Linked DNA regions of Homo sapiens: region 2 is linked to region 1. The links are contacts of gene promoters, found by promoter capture Hi-C in blood cells and fetal thymus (Javierre and others, 2016). All regions are on one chromosome and are shown on one strand. Each heading gives the region's core, a stretch centred on a gene start or on the middle of the fragment in contact. The rest is flanking DNA. Distances are from core to core; before and after follow the strand shown.

Region 1 (7,778 bases), core at 1,535-4,034:
AATGACATCCCTGCACACCAGCCTCCACCCATACTGCCCTTCATAAGCCCCTTAAAGGAGATCCCATAGTTCTAAACCGGGTCCACAAACACAGATATCCTCATTCTCTCCTTTTCTTCTCTTTGGCAGTTTGACAAAATCTTTAGGGGGAATTGGAGGAAACATTAATTTCCTAAATCAACTTCATTCAAAGCTTTGGCTTCAAGTTCTACCCGTTAAGGCCTCAGGAAGTTCATTGTCGACATTGAACTCAGTCACTAAAATGACCTCAAGGCTAAGGGATAGACCACAGCTCCACTTCACAAGTAAGCTTGCAACACCTGATTTAGGAAAGTTTGCTGTGCAGACAGTTGTAGCTCATCCATTTTACAGACCGATCTCGATTTGTTTCCTAGGGTCTAAAATTATTTAAATCAAAATCTCTCAGAAATTTCTGGACATTTAATAAATTCATGCTGGAGGAGAACTGGCAGAGATATGTTAAATGCACTTGACCACAAGAACCATTTATTTCATCCAATATTTACCAGCTATTCATTGTACACTTACTACAGATTTTGGCACTGGAGATATTATAAGAAAGCTCTAACCCTGACTTATGGAACTTATCCCAAAAAATAGGAAACAAGGCTCAGAACCATTCAAATGAAGCTTCAGTTAACTCAAATAAAAATTAGTTTTATAAATTTAATGTGAAAGTCTTCGAGTATATTAAGAATGGCTTGATTAACCCCAGGGATGGAAATTTTACTGATTGAAAGAAAGTTTCAATAAAATACCGATCTTTGAATCTAATCTGACACCTGAAACTAGGAAATCAAACACTAGCCATATTTTTTCTTCTATTCTTTATAATAATTTTTCTCATGAGAAAAAGGTATCTTTCTTCCAAGCCTGAAAATAAATGGAGAATTTTTAATATCTATTGATGTGGAGAAAAATAAATAGACTATCTGCTTTCACAAATAAGTGCTGGCATTGAGCCACAGAACATGTCTGTCATATTGCTCTTTCACACCATACATTAACAGGAATAATAATTTCTCCTCATTGAGTTTCCTATTTACTATCCCCTTAATTATACCTCCTTTAATTACTGTCATAGAGTGTCTGAATTTTATAATCCAAGATACTAAGATGTTTATTTGATATACCACCAGACTCAATGTCTTGTATTCTATGCCAAAAATTTGAAAATGTTTGGGAAGAGGAAATTCCGTGGTTTGGTGAACCCAGAAAGTCTTCAGTACATCTCAGTTATAGAACTGTATTAAATACATTTAAACTCTATAATTCCATAAGACCCATTTTAGGTTTATACACTAAGCATCTAATTCCTCACTATCCTCTCATACAAACCCTGTGTAATACAAGTTCTACTCCCATAATTCTATGAACAAAACAACAATTGATACATAGATTTGATTTTTAAAATACATTTTCTTTACCTTATTCTAAATGTAACATAGGGTCAACATAGAAAAAGAAAACTGAAAAGCACAAGGAAAGTGAAATATCTATAATCTTAACCATTGTTAATTTTGTTGTGTTCCAAATTAGTGTATGTATATATATATATATATATATAGCATTTTTGTTTTAATAAAAGGACTGCCAAAATGCACATGCCAATTTGGACTCTGCTTTTTCCACTTACAATGATATCATAGTTTCTCACATTTGGTATTCTTTTGCAATACTTGCTGCATAGAATTCCATCACACAAAGGTAACTGCCTCCTTATTACTTTTGCTAGACACTTAGGGTTTACATTTTTTACAAAAATTATAAATCTTTGATCACAGCTCTGATGATTTCTCTGGGAACTGAGAGCCTAACACAAGTCATTTCCACTTTAAGACTTTTAACATTCTGAAAAGTTATGTTACAAACAGAGTGCTGGTCCCCCTGCAACATGTTCACTCACATTGGCTGACGTTTTAATTCTTTGCCAATCTGAGGGGAAGAGATGTCAACTTTTTTTGTTTGCTCTTTTAATGCCAGTCATGTTCCCTTTTTTTTTCCCCCTTTTACCAGTCATACTGGCTTACTCAGAACCCTACAAATCAATCCTGCTCATTCTTAATTTTCCAACATTGTTCCTGAGATTGTTTCACCAGAAAAGTTCTCCCCCTTATCCACTTCGCCTAACAATTTCTACCCATCCCAATCCTCCTGCATTTATTGCTTCCAGGAATTTGGCACTTAGGACACCCTTGTCCTTACATTGTTCATGCATGTATATTTCGTCTTCAATAAAACATTTAGTTGCTCAAGGGCAAGGGTCCCATAGAGTCTCAATATGCTAACGGCCTGGTGTTGCTTAATAATTTAGATTCTGACGGGTCCTCTCCAGGGAGGGGAGCAAAGGGCAAATTATCTTAGGGGCTGGGAGTGCAGAAGCCAAACCTTTGAGACTGTGAAAAGAAGACGGCGCCGAGACGATTCAGTAGCAGGCATTCAAGCAAGAAAAACTCAAATATTGTTCCCAATAATGCCTGACTAATGCCAAATACCAAGTAAGGGCCCAGGCAGTCCTGACAGCCTGCAGTGCCCCAGGATAAAACTAACCCTGAGGGGTGCTAGCCCACGATAACCCCCTGCCAGGGCTCTGGACACGCCCTGTCTCCTCGAAGGCCAACGGGCTGCCCCTGCGCGCCGAGGCCCCGCCCCGCGGCCCGCCGATTGGCCCCAGCCGCCCCGGCGCTAAGACTCAATTTCACACTACGCGCCCAGGCCACGCCCACCTGTCATGCGGCCCTGGAAACTGTGAGTTTGGGGATTGTTGTGTCCACTAACCGGACTCAGAAGGGACTTCCCTGCTCGGCTGGCTTTCGGTTTCTCTGCTCACCTCCGGATAAATCACGGGGTCTCCCGCGCCGCTCATGGCGCCTCCCGTCCGTCTCGAGCGTCCCTTTCCTTCCCGGCGCTTTCCTGGGTTGCTTCTGGCGGCCCTGGTGTTGCTGCTGTCCTCCTTCTCCGGTAGGACCCCGGGGTGGATTCGCGCGTCCGCGGCGAGGCTAGAGCTCTGCTCAGTCAGTCGGGCAGGAGGCGCGGGGCGAAGCTCACTGCACGTCGTGCCTGCTTGGGATAGAGAGCGAGGCCAGGGTTCTCCGAGGGGTGCCGTGCTCAGATCCCGGGGGTATGTGGCGGGGGATGCGGGAACCACGCAGAAGCTTGTTTGGTGGCATCGTGTGCGCGGCCGACATTTACGCAGGATCTGGCTGCGTTCCCAAAAGAAGCGTGAATCGTGTTTTCGGGATTGAGCCCAGTCAGCAAGGGGAGGGCTTACTGGGCGCCCCAGGTGAGGGCTTGCTCTGGAGTGCACAGGTGCGTGGGATTGTTGCTAGAGCCCGTGCTGTGCCCGTGGTGAGAGTTTGCCCTGTGTTCCCTTGGTGCCTTGGTGAGTAGGGTGTTCATTAGGGCTTGGACAGTACCCGCGGTAAGGGTTGCAGTGCGTCTGCTGTGCCCCATGGGCTGGGCTGGCCTGGGCTGGGCTGGGCGAGCAGGGGCCTGGCCAGGTGTTGCTGGGAGCGTGCTGTGCGCAAGTGGCCTGTGTGCGGAGTTCACTGTGGGCAAGACAGCTCACTGTTTGCTTTGAGTGGAGCGAGCGCGGACTCTGCGGCTAGGGAGGGCATGTTGAGTGAGAGCAGGCTCTCAGTGCCTGGGGTTAGAGAGGTGGTAAGGGCGCACCATGCTTTTAGTGCCTTCTGTGAACAGTGTCCGTGTTGCCTGAGATCGTATTGGTCTTGAATTTTAAGTGGCTGCTTTTTTGGGGGGTGGGTGGGCCATCGAGTCATCTTCCTGTTCCCAACCAATATAGACAGTATCTGATTCCATTGCCTAGTGGCTTTTTGACATTGTTTTCCTTCTTTTCATTAGTTTGAGTCATATTTGAGAGATGTGAAGCAACCTAAAAAACACTGGTAGCCAAACCTAGTGAGAAATTAGTATCCTAACAAAGGAAGGCAGATAATGTTAATCTTGTTTTCCCCTACAGCTCATAAACTGAAGCTTAAGGCCTATCCCACTGTTTTGTATTTCATTGAATGGAATCAATATTTTTAAAAATGCATGCTAGGCCAGGCCCAGTTGCTCACACCTGTGATCCCAGCACTTTGGGAGGCCCAAGTTGGGTGATTGCTTAAGCCCAGGAGTTCAAGATCAGCCTGGACAACATGTCAAAACCCCATGTCTACAAAAAATAAAAAAATTAGATGGGCATGGTGGTGTATGCCCGTGGTCCCAACTACTCCAGAGGCTGAGGTGGGAGGATCGCTTGAGCCCAGGAGGAGAAGACTGCAGTGAGCTGTGATCATGCCACTGCACTCCAGCCTGGATGACAGTGTGAGACCCTGTCTCAAAAAAAAAAAAAAAAAAAAAAAAAGCCAAAAAATACATGCTTAAATACAGGCTTATTGTGCAAAATGAACAAAATAAAAGGACAACTGTTTTTAATATTTTGTTATATTTCCTTCTGACTTTATTGTGTTTCATGTGTATCTATGTCCAAATTATATTTAGGATCTTATTCCATGTACAGATTGTACGTTGCATTTCTTCTCTTAGGAACATTCATTCAACAAATATGGGTCTTGTATGTCTGGTGCTGTTACACTAGTAGGTAATAACAGACAATTCCTATTTTCTTTATCCTTTTTTTACTATTTGTTTACACACACGTACATGCAGGAAGATAAGCAGGGACTTTTTTTGCTCATTGTTAAGTGCTTAATGCCGGGAACACAGTAGGCAATCAACAGATGTTTGCTAAAATGTATTGGGAGTGGCAGACATTAACCAAAACATAATAGTAACAAATATATTAACCAGGGAAGTGTTCTGGAGGAAAGGAGTATAATTTTCTGACAGCATTTAACAAATGACTGGGGGGAGGGAAGGCTTTGCTTCTCATCAAACAGACAAAACTCTGCCACTTTGGGGCATCTGTGCTTTCTGTTCCCTCAGTCCTGGAACGTTCTCCCCATGACCTGCTGCATAAATGGGCTGTTTCTTCTGCAAGCTCAGCTGGAATGTTACCGCTTCAGAGACCTTCTTGGAACCCCCCAACTCAGGTTGAACACATACAACCCAGTTCAAGTACCTCTTGTAATCACCCTTTTAAAGTGATCTTTTCTGTTCTCTGTCTCTCCCCATCAGAATGCAGGAATCTTCTGTCTTCCCCCATTTGTGGTTCCAAAAGCCCCATTTGTTTGCTTCTGTATGAACCCTAACTCAGTATCCATATAGACATCTGTTAAATATCAGAAAATTAAATATACTATTTGGCTGGGGCTTAGAGCCTAGGAAAAAGTCCCTCCTGCCTCCAAGAGGAAGGTTCTTTAAAGAGCTATGCTCAGGATGGTCTTTCTGTTGTACCTAAAAAGCTAGGGCAGCAGCAGCTGAGGGCCAGAAAGGATCTGTCTCCCCTGTTTATGTTGACTCTGCAGGGCTTCCAGTACTTCAGTCTTGCATCTCACTGATCATTAAAACGTTCATTTTGAAGGAGGGTGATGGGATTAGGGAGCAGTGGTGTTAAGAAGAAAACGAAAGGACTTTTTTTTCTTTTTAAAGATTAATGTTTAGAATAGGCTTAGTACTAGAAGTACATACAGCCTGGGCATCATAAGGAGAGCCCACCTCTACAGAATATTAAAAACAAAAAATTAGCCAGGTGTGATGTTGCATGCCTGTGGTCCCAGCTACTTGGGAGGCTGAAGGGCGTGAAGGGGGAGGATCACTGGAGCCCCCATGGTCAAGGCTGCAGTGAGCCCTAATCATACCACTGCACTCCAGCTTGGGTGACAGAGTGAGACCCGGTCTCAAACACACACACACACACACACACACACACACAGACACACACACACACACAGAAAAAAAAAAAAAACCTGGAAGTTGAAGAAGATAATGAAAGCAATTTGAAATAGAGGAACATAGAATTATAAAATGAATAGGGTGCAACATGGAAGATAACAAAACTAAAAATGAAGAGAAGGAAAAATAAGGTTAAGTTTGAGGTTGATAGGGTTAAATCAAGACAGGTATGAAACCTAGAGAAAGTAAAAATGAGAACTCACGATGCTAGGCAGAGAGAATACATGAATTAAAATAAACATTCAATTTTTGGAGCAACTCACTCTCACAAAGATAAGGTTTTGTAAGCAGGTGGTGCTGTGCATGGGAGACCTGCCCTCTCAAAGGTAGTTGCCAAATGGTTCCAGATAGCAGAAGGAAACATGTGTCAAATTTCAGGCCAGTCTCATTCATTCCTCCAGAAGAGGAGCTGCTTTTTTGGACAAAACCCCCGATCTCCTGTTGTGTGTGGTCTCTTCTGCCTATTTCAGGTGTTTTCCTTATTTTCAATGAAAGAAGCCAAGACCAGTAAGTTCTTATTGCTTCTTAGTTTCCTCACTCGGCATACTACAATGCAAAAAGAGCAGTCCATATCTGGTCACCTGCCAGGATACCAGAAGACTGGGAGATAGGCAGCACAAGAAATGGCTAAATCTTCTTTCTCCATTGTTCTGTAGAATGATTATTTTCAATATGAAATTGATTACAATATATTCTTCACATTGTTTTGTGTTTGACAGCAGTGGACTTTGAGTACCAAATTTTTTTCAAATAGCTACTATGAGGGACATATTGTGCTGGGTGTTGTGGCCACATGGATGAATGGAGTCGGCCTTGTTAACTATTAAACTCAAAAACACGTGATAATTACCTGAGAGATCCATGCAGGGGAGAGTCCAGGGGAAGGTGACTGATCACTGCTTCCCAGGGGGAGGCAGAAAATGCTTCTTGGAGGAGATGATGGGTGGATTAAAGAAGACAAGAGCTGAGCAGGAGTTGTAGCTACCGGCCAGGGAGGAAGGGTATTCAGAGCAGAGGAAGCAAGGTGAGCAAAGGCACCAAGATGTGACACTGCTGGACTGCCAAGCTATTCAGTGTGGCAGAGTAGGGTAAAGGAGACAACAAAGAAGGGAGAGGAATAAATCACAGGGTGAGCAGTTCTAAAAAGCAACAGGCTTGTCAGGAATAAACAATCACCATCGTAAACTCAGACTTTGGTATTATTCCCTGTCCTTTTAGGGCAGCTTGAGCCCTTTTGTTTGACTTAGCACAACGTGACTCCAAACTAGGGTTGTTTTAATTTCCCGAGACACAGTAGTAGGCAATTTCTTGAGGACCTAATTGCAGATAGAGTTTGTCGGTCTCAGCATGTGGGAGCTCCAGATGAATGGCAGTAATGGGAAGCAGTTTGGTAGTGGTTCAGCAGTGTGGCCTGGGAACCTAGTTGACTGGCCTGCCTCCTGGGTCTGCCAACCTAACTGGAATGTATTCTTGGGTTCTGATTGTGATGGGATTTAAAAGTCTCTAAGCTATGTTAGGAAGCCTTAGACATTATCCTGAGGTCATTGGAGAGCCATCGAAAGGTATCTGTCTTGGAAAAACCTTGATTACTCTGTCATATAAATACTGCTCTGGTAATGTGAAAAATGAATTGAATGAAAGGTGGCAAGATAGGTATGGAGACCTATTTAGTTATGTCGTGGTAATCCAGATAAGAAATGATAGTGGCTTGAATGAAAAGTAAAGGATACAACTACATAGAATAAACGGGCATTTCAGTTGTGGAAACATAACTTGTTTGGGGGGCGTGTGTGTGTATGTGTATGTGTGTGTAGAGTCAAAAGTGGCTCTTGGGCCTCCCTTTGTTGTTTGAGCTAGAGTGACACATTCCAAGTAGAGCTGTGTGGGGAGGCAATTGAATA
Region 2 (7,778 bases), core at 2,905-5,404, 1.0 Mb before region 1:
CCAGGCAGCATCAAATCTGCAATGAACAAAAAAAATCACAACCTGCATTCAGCCTCCATCTCACTCTGCGTTTTACTTCATCATTTCCTCACTCGCTCAACAAAAAAATAGTTACTAGGTATCAACTATGTTTTTCATAATAAAAATGAAAAATGGCAACTTCCAACAAAAAAATAGTTATTAGTTATCAACTATGTTATTCATAATAAAAATGAAAAATGGCAACTTCAGTATCAGACCTTCTCCCCTTAGGGGGCTAAAGGTCAAACAGAGTTTGAGTGTCCTGGCCGGGCGCAGTGCCTTATGCCTGTGGCTTACGCTTTTTATGACCCCTTCACCCATCCAATAGCAGGACATTTATTTTTATTCAAATGGTGGTTTCTAAGCCAGAAGTGGGAACCTTGACTTCCACTCCAGACTCAGCTCCTAACATTCTTCTGGCATAAAAGAGCTACTCTTAGCCAGGTGCGGTGGCTCACGCCTGTAATCCCAGCACTCTGGGAGGCCAAGGCGGGCAGTTGACTTGAGGTCAGAAGTTCGAGACCAGCCTGGCCAACATGATGAAACCCTGTCTCTACTAAAAATACAAAAATTAGCCAGGCGTGGTGATGCACACCTGTAATCCCAGTTACTCGGGAGGCTGAGGCAGGAGAATCACTTGAACCTGGGAGGCAGAGGTTGTAGTGAGCCGAGATCATGCCACTGCACTCCAGCCTGAGCAACAGAGTGAGACTCCATCTCAAAAAAAAAAAAATAAAAAAAGTTTGAGTAGCCTATAACATGATCTGTCTTGTCCTAGTTTCCTAAATTCAGCTTATTGATTTACAGTATAGCACATGGTGGTTCATAAAATACTTTCACAACACTTATTTAAGCCTTACAACAGGGCCAGAGGGGCCCAGAGATCTTGTGTGGAACCAGCCAAGTGAGAAACATAAAACACATAGGGGAAAAAATTCCATTTTTCAACCACAAAAACACAGGAAATGGGTAAGTTTATTACATCAGTTGGCTTTTGCTAAGTAGGTTTCAGCCAATAGCCAGAATATAGGAGAATCCTCTTACCTGCTCCCCCTACCAGTTTCTCGAGCACCAGAGGCCATGTTGTAAAGGTTGGCAGAAGATCAGGATAGGACCACAGCGTGTACACTGTACAAAAAGAGATCCAGAAAACACTACTACCAAAAAGCCAATCTTCTAGAGAAATGGAAAAACCTAACACTATGGTCACTTTAATTAGAATACAGGAAAGAAACTCAACTCAAAGCTAAAGAGAAGGTTGTAAGGGGATGCCCAGAGAGGTTTCATTTTTGAGGAAGGAAAAAACCTAAGAAACTGAGTGTCACTTGAGATTTGGAGGCATCCGGATTGCAGCAGCAGAAAATGGTCACAGTGGACAAAAAAGTGAGGGCAGAGAACCAATGAAGCTTTTATTTACGGCTTCAGAAGCAAGTAGCCTAAGAACAGGAAGCCAGCTGTATAAAATTTGGAAACTTTCCCATGTTTATCATTTTTATCCCCTCTGTTTCCATAGTGATTAGCAGCAAAAACCCCTAGGTCAAAAAGCATTGTGGTTGTCTTCAGGTACAGCAAGGAAGTGAGATCAGGGGCAGGAGTGGCCTAAGGATATTGCATTGCACTATTGCAGACAACCCTGGAGGATGAAAAGCCCCAAGTTACAAAGTAGGTGTCAGCAGCTATGGAAAAGAGAAAAGGAGACTGAGTCCCTGAGATTTGTGACAGAGAAGGCAAAGAATCCTAGAGAGCCACTCATAGCCTAAAAAATCCCTGTGAGACCTATGGTTAAAGTACACCATGAAAACAGCTGGATATGTAGCTTATCAATCCAGCTTTATTCCTATCACAGTATATCTTTTCAGTATTTTAGGAAAATCCTGCTACAGATAGTTTTAAGAAACATTTTTTAGGCTGGGCACCCTGCTCATGCCTGTAATCCCAACACTTCGGGAGACTGAGGCAGGAAAATCACTTGAGCTCAAGAGTTCAAGACCAGCCCGAGCAACATAGTGAGACCTTGTCTCTACCAAAAATTTTAAACGTAGCCAGACATGGTGGCATATGCCTGTAGTCCCAGCTACACAGGAGGCTGAGGTGGGAGGATCCCTTAAGCACAGGAGGTTGAGGTTACAGTTAGCTACGATCACACCACTGCACTTCAGCCTGGGTGACAGAGTAAGACCTTGTCTCTAAAAAATATATATATTTTTGGCCAGGCGCGGTGGCTCACGTCTGTAATTCCAGCACTTTGGGAGGCCGAGGCGGGCGGATCATGAGGTCAGGAGATCAAGATCATCCTGGCTAACATGGTGAAATCCCGTCTCTACTAAAAAATGCAAAAAATTAGCAAGGTGTGGTGGCGGGTGCCTGTAGTTCCTGCTACTCGGGAGGCTGAGGCAAGAGAATGGTGTGAACCCAGGAGGCGGAGCTTGCAGTGAGCTGAGATTGCGCCACTGCACTCCAGCCTGGGCAACAGAGCAAGACTCTGTCTCATGAAGACATGCCCTGAAATTCCATCCTTTTCAAGACCTCTGCTCTATTCCTAGTCAACCCACTGTAAACTTCTCAGCCACTGTTCCTTCATCTCAGAACTTCCCTTTGCAACCACCCTTACTTACTATGTCAGCCCTTTTTTTAATCCCTCCTATAGTGGTTTTGCATAAGAGAAAACCTTTTGCATCCTAGAATTGAAAGACCCAATTCTAGGAACACCAGGTCCATAAAGATCCTTGGGGATGGTATTGGGAGATTTCGTGCTTGCTTATTTTATGGGAGACAATGGAAGAAACAGAGAGAAGCAGATGTTAGGCAAGAACTACCTAATGGTAATGGCCATCTTCGTCCTGTTGTCATACCTGTTGGATACAGATTTTTCTCCAGTTCAAAGAGGATGGGGTTACCACCACTCACGTACACAGTCACTGCATCCCCTTTGTGAGCATACAACTTCACAATGTTGAGCTCCTCCTTTCCAGGTACTAACTCAGAGACTTGATCAGTTCCAAGGGTGGGGAAAGCAGTTGTCACATCAGCTCGAAGCTTTCTCCTGTGGAAAGCACACCAGCACTGTGAATGCTGCCTGGACAGACTTTTAATAAATATCAAGAACGAACTCAAAAGTGCTCACTATAAAATCACAAGGGCCAAAGAAAGATTGCCTGGTTTATGATGTCCTAGTCTCACACACACTCTTCTGAAACATCCTAAACTCTTTTTCATCCATTGTCATCTATTTTCACTCATTCCTGGGGTATGCCTTCCCATTTTATGGGTGGGAAAACAGGCCCAGTGAACAATCCAAGTTAGCCTGACACAGGAAACAGCCCTGCCTTCCTGACTTCATGCCTAGCCCTTGGGCCCACTCCTTTCTCATACATGCTTCGCAAATATGCCAGTTTATGATTAAATAACTATGCCATGAGACCTATAGACAACTATAAAGCACTGGTTACAAAATTCCAAACACAATCTCCATTTGTGACCCTGTCTGAACAGATACAGTTCTTCTTACCACATGTGCCTTATTCCCTCCCACCTCAGTTTCCAGCTGTCTCTCCTGCCAGAATTAATCACTAGTCATTTTTTTCTCTTATACTTTTAATTCTTGGTATCCCATCCGATCTCTCCCAAGGGGCATTAAGCTCTTTGGAGGGCAAGAATTCTGTATTCCTTCACTTCTGCATTCTCCACAACACCTTAAATAGTCTGCAGTCAGTAAACTCTGACTTAACTACGTTTTCTTTTAAACTCACTAGACTATCCAAAAGAGAGCCAGGTCCCCCTCCATCCTCACCTCAAAATGTGTCTAACCCACCCTTGCCTCCTGGGGTCCCTTCCCTGGCATACCCCTCGGCCTCCACCCGAGGATGTCGGCCAAGAATAGCGAGGGCTATGGGCCAGCGGGGCCCAAGAGGTGTCTGGTTGTTCCGTGGCAGAGCAGGCCCCTTTCCTCCCTCACCTGTCCGACCCCTTGATGGCCGTGTTGGACTTGACCCGAAAGGCCTTGGCAAACATGTCTGCTGGGGTGGCCTGGGGAAGAGAGCACAGAAGCCAGGGAATGTCAAGAAAGCGAGGGCGCAGCAGCTGCCAGGCCCTCAGCCGTGGGGGCAGCCATGCTGGGGCCCGGCCGCGAAAAGGGCCCGGCTGGAAACCAGGGCCGCGCAGCTTCGTGGCCGTTGCCGCTGGGGAGGCCGCGGCCGCCCCCAGTGGCGGTACCTGGAACTAAAGCAGGGCAGGGAGGGGCAGGGCCCAGGGAACGCCCCTCCCCCCCACCTTCCCATCCCCTCGCGGGCCTGGCTCTGCGCCTGCGCGAGCGGCTCGGGTTCCCCGTCCGTAGCGACTCGGCCACGCCAATAGCTGTTCTGTTTATTTCCTTCCACCCCATCAACCTTAGGAACTGCTTTGAGTAGAAGCTCTCTGCAAGCTCCCATTCCATTCGGTTCGGTTCAATTCCGCAAAAATAATTGAACTGATAAACAGTTCAGGCTTCGGCCGGGCGCGGTGGCCCAAGCCTGTTATCCCAGACTTTGGGAGGCCGAGGCGGGCGGACCGCTTAAGCCCAGAAGTTCGAGACCAGCCTGGGCAACATGGCGAAACCCCATCTCCATAAAAAATACAAAATAAAAAAAAAAAAAAAAAAAAAAAAAAAGAAAGAAAGAAAGAAAGAAAAAGAATTGGGAGGCCGAGGTGGGCGGATCACCTGAGGTCGGGAGTTCGAGACCAGCCTGATCAACATGGAGAAACCCTGTCTGTACTAAAAATACAAAATTAGCCGGGCATGGTGGAGCATGCCTGTAATCCCAGCTACTCGGGAGGCTGAGGCAGGAGAATTGCTTGAACCCGGGAGGCAGAGGTTGTGGTGAGCCGAGATTGCACAATTGCACTCCAGCCTGGGCAACAAGAGTGAAAGTCCGTCTCAAAAAAAAAAAAAAAAGAAAAGAAAAAAGAAAAATTCAGCCGGGTGTGGTGGCGCATGCCTGGGGAGGCTAAGGCGGTAGGATCGCTTGAGCCCAGGAGGCAGAGGTTGCCGTGAGCCGAGATTGTGCCACTGCACCCCACCTTGGACAACAGAGTAAGACTCCGTATCAAAAAAATCAAACAAACAAACAAAAAAACCTCGAGGGCTTTTTGAATATTTTTCTTTATTTTATTTTATTTTGTTTACTTGGAGACAGGGTCTCGCTGTGTCACCCAGGCTGGAGTGCAGTGGCGCAATCTCAGCTCAATGCAGCCTCCACCTCCCGGGCTCAAGCGATCCATCCGCTTCAGCCTCCCGAGTAGCTGGGACTACAGGCGGGCACCACCACACCAGGCTAATTTTTGTATTTTTTGTAGAGACAGGATCTCACCTTGTTGCCCAGGCTGGTCTCAAACTCCTGAGGTCAAGAGATCTGTCCGCCTCGGCCTCCCAAAGTGGTGGGATTACAGGACAGGTGTGAACCACCAAGTCGGGCCTAAATGTTTTTCTTAAAGGCATTCTATGATTAAGGTCTATTCATTGTACTATAAGCTAGAAGCCTCAGCTAGAATTTTCTGTAAGATTTTTCTCATCCCGGATTTTTAGTTTACTTGGGTGGTAATAACAGTAATAGAGAATTCACTGTTGTCCCAGATTTGTCCCAAAGTCACACAGGCAGGGAAGAGAAATTAGGTTTTCCTCAAAGGGACAGCTGTGTTCCCTGGAGACAAGGATTTAAACACCCGGAATCCTGGCTCTTCGTAAATTAAGTCTTGCATATTAAAATTACATTAAGCAATTTAAGTAATAAAAGTAAATTATGTTTTGCATATTAAAACTTCCAAGTGTCCATTCACCAATAAAAAATCCCAATTGATTCAGTGACGCAGTTGCACAAAGGAGAATTCCACACTGGCTTTCTAAACATTAGGCCTTCTACAATGTTTGCCCACCACCTATAGTGGCCTAGGGACCAGCCCCAACTCCTCCTAAACCTGTGACCCACTAGGCCTTTATTCTGAAGTATCCCAGCCACCAGGCCAATGTCAAAGGAGCCCAGAGGAGGACAGTGCCTACAACAGACCCCTGTACCCACCCTTCACCTCCCACTTAGCCACTCTTCGGATGTGCAATACATTTGGGGTCTTTTGCAGCACAGCTGCTGAGGAAGCCTCTTTCTTAGGGAACAGAGGAAAGCTATTCAGAGAATACTAAACATTTTAAGCTAGGGGAACTTTTGTATACCAGATGTCCTTGGATAAGAAAACATCAATTGTAAACCTAAAAATTAATTAGTGGTTGACAAGTAGGAGCCAAGACCCCAGAGGATTCTGCACCATGGCATCCAGCCTCCTCTTTGGTAGAGCAAGAGCCCCCTTCCCCAGTGGGCACAATCCCACCTTCTCTGCTTGCATCACAGACCTGCCTGCTCCCTGCTGGCTGACCCTATTGCAGGGAAAGCAGCCTGAACCTTAAGTTCAGCAAGCCCTGATTCCTGTGCCTTCCATCAGCAGCTCCAGAGCCACCCCACAGGGCTCCCAGACTGTTCCCCACTGGTGGGTCTGAGCTGCCAAGTTGCAGCAAGGCACAGGGCAACTATACCAAGAAAGCTGCCATTTACTGAGAAAAAGGATCGTTTTCACTAATTATACTTGATAGCAACTGGCTGTAAATTGGATTCTTTACAAGAGTACCAAGTATTTGGAAGCAAGGGTAGGCCAGATGAGAGATTCCATTTTCCTTAGACTTCCTTTTTCTTCTCTTCCCAGTGAGTCCTAATGGAGAAAATTTAGTTTAATTCATTGAAACTTAACTGGAAGCTTTCTAATCAGGCTCTGTGATTTTTAAGACAAATTCGACACAAGCACTCTGCCCTCAAGGAACTCACAGTCTAACAAGTGGTATTTATGTCCTCTTGAAGTCTATAGGACCACAGGGTACCCAAACTGATAATTCATCCATGGCTACCTACTAGTTACTCCTTCACTAGCCTTCTCTTCCCTTCTACTGAAGCCCACACGCAAATCCCCTGAAAATATGGATCATTGGCATCTACATTTCAAATGTGACCAATGGTTTGAGAATTCTTTGATGGATCTGGATGGCTTTTCAGATGAGCAAGTGTGTTCACAGCCTCAGAAAGAGTCATGTTATCTTCACCCATATACAGATGATTCAGGGATACGGGATTTTTACTTTTTCAAATGTGTCCATGCCCATTGCCTCATGTTACCTTCATACCAATGCTGTAAGCAGTTATTGTTAACCCCTTTGCCAGGTGAGAAACCTGGAGTACAGAGATGTTAACTAACTTGTCCAGGCTCACACAGTTACCTTGCATGATTTAGTCTGTGGATGATGCTTTCCAACCACTAGGAAAAAATGGATGCAATAAATGATGTCAGGACAAATGCCTATCCATTTAGGAGGAAAGTTTACCTCATATTTTCATAAAAAGAAATTCCAGATAAAGATCTAAATGTAAAACAAAACAAAACAAAAACTACCACAAAACTAAGCATGCTTTTACCATATAATCCAGCAATCACTCTCCTTGGAATTTATATAAATGAGTTGAAAATGTATATCCACACAAAAACCTACACATAGTCATTTATAGTAGCTTTACCCAGAATTGACAAGACATGGAAGCAAACAAGATGTTCTTTGGTAGGTGAATGGATAAATAAACTGTGGTACATGCAGATGATGAAATATTCTTCACCACTAACAAGAAATGAGCTATCAAGCCATTAAAAGACATGCAGGAGCCAGGCGCAGTGGCTCACGCCTGTAATCCCAG

The links. The method cuts DNA at HindIII sites, captures the fragments that hold promoters and counts their contacts. A CHiCAGO score of 5 or more calls a contact.
Region 2: the fragment with the promoter of EIF2D here is called in contact with the fragment with the promoter of CR1L in region 1 in 2 of 17 cell types (erythroblasts and total B cells); the score reaches 6.2 in erythroblasts.

The regions. Positions count from the first base shown.
Region 1 is chr1:207,642,349-207,650,126 of GRCh38, forward strand. It overlaps CR1L (complement C3b/C4b receptor 1 like), which reads left to right and starts at 2,785. Exons shown (of 12, transcript NM_175710.2): 1 at 2,785-2,982. The coding sequence starts at 2,886. It also overlaps the pseudogene CD46P1. RefSeq lists a silencer at 2,585-2,754 and an enhancer at 2,815-2,894. The HindIII fragment of the contact is 2,525 bases long and covers 650-3,174 here.
Region 2 is chr1:206,608,311-206,616,088 of GRCh38, forward strand. EIF2D (eukaryotic translation initiation factor 2D) reads right to left here and starts at 4,155. Exons shown (of 15, transcript NM_006893.3): 1 at 3,977-4,155; 2 at 2,874-3,064; 3 at 1,066-1,149; 4 at 1-16. The coding sequence starts at 4,032. RefSeq lists enhancers at 1,238-1,337, 1,378-1,437, 3,848-3,917 and a silencer at 4,208-4,417. The HindIII fragment of the contact is 3,738 bases long and covers 3,056-6,793 here.